Regions from separate parts of the Homo sapiens genome. Here region 2 is linked to region 1. The links are contacts of gene promoters, found by promoter capture Hi-C in blood cells and fetal thymus (Javierre and others, 2016). All regions are on one chromosome and are shown on one strand. Each heading gives the region's core, a stretch centred on a gene start or on the middle of the fragment in contact. The rest is flanking DNA. Distances are from core to core; before and after follow the strand shown. Region 1 holds the start of CSMD2 (CUB and Sushi multiple domains 2). Region 2 overlaps LOC105378641 (a long non-coding RNA gene).

Region 1 (2,753 bases), core at 87-2,586:
ACCGCCCGCCGGCCACTGCCCCCTTGGCCACACAGATGCCAACGCTCCGTTTTGGCCAAATCAGGCTGCCCTAAGCCCGGAGCACAGCTTCTCTGGGGTGTGTCGGCAAAGGGGGCGGGGGTGCCCATCGCAGGTGCCTTTCCACTGCACGCGCCAGCAGAAGCCTCCTCTCTGGACCTTGCCCCTCCCAGTTTCCTCCAGCCTCCCCCCATGAAGCGTCTCTTCCCTCTCGCCGAGAGTTTGGCGTAGACAGCGAAGGAGCCATCGTGACTGGCGGAGAAGCCTGGAGTAGACGAGACAGAGACGGCGACCGAGTCGGGTGGGGGATGGGGTGGGGACCGACACTAAGCCCTTGGGGCCTAGAGGCAGCCGCTACTGGGGAGAGGTGGGGAGCAGCTCACGTCCTTGGGAAGAACTCTCTTGGTTTGGGGCCTTGGCTGGGAGGAGGAAGGGGAGAAGAAGAAGTAGGATCCGATTATTTAAATTTGGGGATAAATTGTACTAGTAACTCTTGCACCGTCCTTCCACCAACCTCACTCCCCACCCCCAACTCGCGTGCACACAGGGACCGCCTCTGCCACCCTGAGATTTTTGTCTTAGGGTAGGAGTGGGACCGCACTGGGTCAAATGAACCGGTTCCCCCCCCTCCCCACCCCACACACAACCCCCCTCCACCGCCCTCCAATTCTTAACCCTGCCTCTGTCTACGCACACACGCCCCTCTCCTGGGATGGGGTAGGAGGCTATTGTGAATGAGGCTCATAAGCATCGCCCCCGGCCCTAGATGGCAAGTTCAAAGCCACCACCCAAGATCAGCTGGTAAGAGCCAAGACTTGGGGAACGCGTCCTTCTTTGGTTACCTTTTCCCAGACAGGATTCCAATTTCCAAACGTGGAAGAGGTGTGCGTGTATGTGCCTGTGTGTGTGAGTGCGTGTGTCTCTGTCACTGTGTGTGTGTGTGTGTGTTTGTGTGTGTGTGTGTGGAGAGGGGGGTGTATTAATGGGTGATGTTATAAATGAAAACAGGAGGACTGAACTTAAAAGAAACTGGTCAATTGCAAAACAGACACGGATAAACAACCCTTTAGATGTAATTTGTGGTTTATCTGGAGGTGGAGGTGGCGCTGAAGAGGAACCCCCGCCCCCCAATATTTTATCCTTAGCTGCGCCTCCACCCCCAGCATTTGGAGCGGCGGAGAAGCGGCTCCGGAGTGATTAATCCGGGGATAATTCACCCCCTCCCGCCCCCCGGCGCGAACCCCGCGAAGCGGGATTGGAGCGAGTCATTTCCGAGAGCGCAGCGCGCCTCTCCCCGGCCGGGCGGACACTTGGTTCATTCCAGCCGCAGAAGCTCAGGGCTCCCGCGTACCGGGATTTTTTCCGAGCAGAAAAAAGCTCCAGAGCTCTCCTGACCTCCTTTCTCCTCGGCGGCGAGCGGAGCCTCTCCCTCGGCGCTGCCGGCCGCGCCATGCCGCGCTCGCGGGGACGGGAGCTGGGGCGCTGCGGCTGCCCCGCGGGGAGGGCTCGCGGCGAAACCGGGATTTCGGCGCTTGTGCCGGGCGCCGGGAGCCGCTGGGGCCGCCCGCCGCCGCCAACGCCGCCGCCTCTGCTGCTGTTGCTGGGCTGTGGGTTGCTCAGCGTCTCGGCCGCCGCGGGTGAGTCCAGCCGCGCCGAGGAGCCAGCGGCCGCCGCGCGCCCCACCCGAGCCCCGAGCCCACCCATCCTCGACCCGGTCCCAGTCCCTCCCCCCGCCTCTATCCCTGCCTGAATCTCCCACCCTCCCAGTTGCCTACTCTCATTCTCATCCCTGCCTCCGTCTCCCACCCCACCCTCAGCCACGTCCTCACCTCCACCCTCACCCTCACTGCTGCCCCAACCCCAGCCGCAACTTGGACGGATGCGGCCGGTGTGGGGGCCTGGGAGACAGACATCCCCGCCCGGGGTTGCGGGGCACCTGGTCTGTGGCTTCAGTTTCTCCAGCCTCCCAGCCCCCACGGTGCTAGGCTTTTTCCCGATAAACTTTCCGGGAGCCCTACTCCCCCGGCTCCTGATTCTGCCAGGCACGCTGGTCCTGGGGGCTGGAGAGGAACCGTGCGCCCCCTCCCCATTTCTGCGTCTGCAAGGTCTGCCCTTCCCTGCCCCCGCCCATTTTCTCCAATTGAAACCGGTGCCCCCTCTGGAACCGACTGCAGACTGCGGCCGCCATCCCCCTCCTCAAATGCTACCCCTCCCTCGGCGCTCGGAGCTAGGAGGGGGTTCAGGTGGACGCGTGCCCACGGTGGGGGTCCCGCGCATTCCTTGCAGGAGGGTGCAGGTGGGGGCTGGAGGGTGTTGAGGGATGGGAAGGAGGGGGTGGGGGTTGTAGCCCGAGGCGGGGGAGGGAGTGCCGCCGCCAGGCTTCGCGCTGCCACATTCCCCTCGGTGCTCACTCCGCGCCAAAGTGCCCTTTCCCGCGCCCTGCTGCAGCCGAGCGCCTCGGCTGCGGCAGCGGCAGCGGCGGCGCGGGCGGCGGGACCAGCTCCCGACGACCGAGTCCGGGAAGGGGCAGATCTAGCGGGTGCGGAGAGTCCCGGAACTTCGCGGGTGTCTGGCTGCAGCTTGCAGCGCGCGGGGGAGGTACGCGAACCTTCGAGGGAACCCGGTCCCCTGTGGAGGCTACTGGCCGCGACTGGTGCCCTCCCGCTTTACCCACAGCACCCCTCCGAAGCTCAGTTCTAGCTACAAGCTAGAAAGTTCCGTGTGCCCGGGTGGAG
Region 2 (2,753 bases), core at 86-2,585, 430 kb before region 1:
GAAACTGCATGGAGTTCTTTAAAAATGGCAGATTCAGTTAGTATGAACTCCTTTTGTTCATTGCCCGTGGCATTTCCCCTTCTTTCTACCTGGAATGTGGGCTGATGTTGGAGGCACAGCTGCCATTTTGCAACCACAAGTTAATCATAAGGAAAAGGCTAAGAATGTGGTAGAAGTCTTGGCCTAGATGTCCCTGTGCCTTTGGGCCAACATAGCAACAACATCTTCTAGAGGCTTTCTTCTTACCAGAGAAGAAAGAAAAGCCCTGCTTGGCTTAAGTCATTGTTTCTCATTTTGTTATTAACGTAACGAATTCCTTCTATTATAGTATTATTTACTTCTATCTCTACAACAATTCTACTTGAGATTGAATTCTCTGCGTATCAGGTGGAGATTCAGAGGCTGAGAGCAGACAAGTGACCAGTCCAAGTACATACAGCTAGTACTGGGGAAGGGACGCAAACTGAGAACAATGCCATGAATATGTTTTGGCCCATTCATTTGATAAGAATTTCAGGATTTCTTATCTTGTGCCAGGCCTGGGTCCAACATTTGAGATACAAAGATGGATACAACAGGGTCCTTGCCATTGAGGTCCACCAAAGTGGGCCAAGTGAGAGATGATGGGAAGTTGCCCAAGGAAGATAGAGAGGGCTGGGTAGAATTAAGAGACATTTAGAAGGAAGAATCGTAGGATTTGGTGATAGATTCAAAGGAGAGGACGGATATCTAAGTTTGTGGCTTGAACACTTGGGAGAAATGTGTGGTCATGACTGGTATAGAGAATATGCAAGGAAAGGCAGGAGTGGTGGGAGGCAGGTGGGAGGAGCCTGGAAGGCAGGCAACCAGATGCAGAATGGATTTTTGAAGCAGGGCAGCTCTGGGGAAGCAAGGGCTCCAGGCTGTTGTCATGGGATTGGTGACTGAGATAGAGTGGAGGTGAAAGTTGGGGCTGGCCTGAAAGCCTCAGCTGCTAACTATTAATGCCATATTCCCTATTCAACCCCTTCAGGGCAGCCTGGGCAACTGGAGCCACAGAGGAACAGCAAGAGGAGGGCTGTGCTTTCACATTGGACCCTTATAGAGGGCCTTGGCAGGCTCCCCTTCTCTCCCCAGCCATTTTCTGGGCTTGAATTCAGCATTCAGTCGCTCTCCTCATTAGAAAGAGTGGCTCTGTGGGTCTGCAGGATCACTCAATACAGTAAGTGAGCCAACCCCAGGGGTTCTTTCAGGTAACTAGTACTTAAGCCCGCCATTAGCCACCATTAGGGATGCCTTTACTGCTTAATGATCACCAGCTACAGGGCTTGGTGGGGCTGGACAGATGGAGAGCAGGGAGGAGCTTCCCCACAAAGAGGCCATTCCAATGTTCTTCTCCTGAGACCCCAGAATTGAGGCTGCTCTGCCCTCCAGGCACAGGATTAGTTACAGATCACTGGCCTGTCTTGGTTAGAATAGGTAGAAATCTATATTTGATGAGTCTATGGGAAGAAGGAAGGGGATGCTAGGAGAAGCTAAGGCTCCTGTTTCTTTCTGATGGGTGGGATCTAAGGGTATTTGTGCTCTCTCTCTCTCCCTCCCTCTGTATGTGTGTGTTCGTGTGTGTGTGTGTGTGTGTGTATGTATTTTGGGGAACCTGTTCTCCGCTCTGAGGGGGTCTGGGATTCAGGGTTAGATATCCCACTTTATATAATAGAAATTTCCCCAGGATCCACTAGTCCATGGGTATCAATGAAATCATGGGTAACAGAAATGGCTCAAATTTCACTGTCTTGTGTCCCCACCTTACCACCCTCTGAAAAATCTCGCAGTTTCCCAAGAATCCCTGGGACGTCTCTGGCACTTCTGGACACATATGCTGCTGTTTCAGTGAGCACCAAGTTGCCCTCTAGGGGGTGCTGCTGCTCCACTGGGCATGGCCCTGCAGACATCATTGCTGCTCTGCAGGTGCTGGGAACTCCGGGCACTGTTGCTGCTCTGCTGGGCACTGCAGCCTCTCCCTCTGCACTCCTGGGCAACCCTTTGAGCTCTGCTGCTGGTCTGCCAGGCCCAGAAGTGTCCACCAGTCACCACTATTGCCCCACTGTTGCTTCACTGGGCTCTGTTATTGCTGCCATCTCTCAAGGGACACAGTTCAGGGGGCCAAAGCTGAATAGTGGTCTGTTGTAGGTGGAGAAGAAGGGAGGAAGCCTCTCGCCTCTTGTGCTGCACTATCTTGGAGCCATCCCAAACTTCTATAAAGTTGGATGACACAGGCCCTCCTGTCTTTTTTTTTTTTTTTTGAAACAGAGTCTCGCTGTTGCCCAGGCTGGAGTGCAGTGGCGCGATCTCGGCTCACTGCAGGCTCTGCCGCCCCCGGGTTCACGCCATTCTCCTGCCTCAGCCTCCTGAGTAGCTGGGACTACAGGCGTCCGCCACCTTGCCTGGCTAATTTTTTGTATTTTTAGTAGAGACAGGGTTTCACCGTGTTAACCAGGATGGTCTCGATCTCCTGACCTCGTGATCTGCCCGCCTCGGCCTCCCAAAGCCTCCTGTCTTTACTTAGGTATTTTATTGTTCAGCAAATATTCATTTTCTCTCCCCAAACCTCTAGGAGAGAAATGTACTTCCCAACCATTAATGCTGAGCTTGGCCGCGTGACTTGCTTGGGCTAATGGGACATTAGCAGTTACAAAGCAAGCAAAAGCTTGGAATGTGCTTGCGCAGTTGGACTTGCTGCCTTCTTGGGCCTTTGCCATTGCTGGGAGAAGAAC

The links. Contacts are between HindIII fragments. The CHiCAGO score rates a contact against its expected background, and 5 or more counts as called.
Region 2: a fragment that was not itself captured here is called in contact with the fragment with the promoter of CSMD2 in region 1 in 1 of 17 cell types (erythroblasts); the score reaches 5.3 in erythroblasts.

The regions. Positions count from the first base shown.
Region 1 is chr1:34,163,813-34,166,565 of GRCh38, reverse strand. CSMD2 (CUB and Sushi multiple domains 2) reads left to right here and starts at 1,336. Exons shown (of 71, transcript NM_001281956.2): 1 at 1,336-1,655. The coding sequence starts at 1,469. The HindIII fragment of the contact is 6,831 bases long and covers 1-2,753 here.
Region 2 is chr1:34,597,235-34,599,987 of GRCh38, reverse strand. All of the region lies in intron 3 of LOC105378641 (a long non-coding RNA gene), which reads left to right. Among named protein-coding and RNA genes, the nearest start is that of MIR552, 71 kb to the left of the region's middle. The HindIII fragment of the contact is 2,706 bases long and covers 1-2,688 here.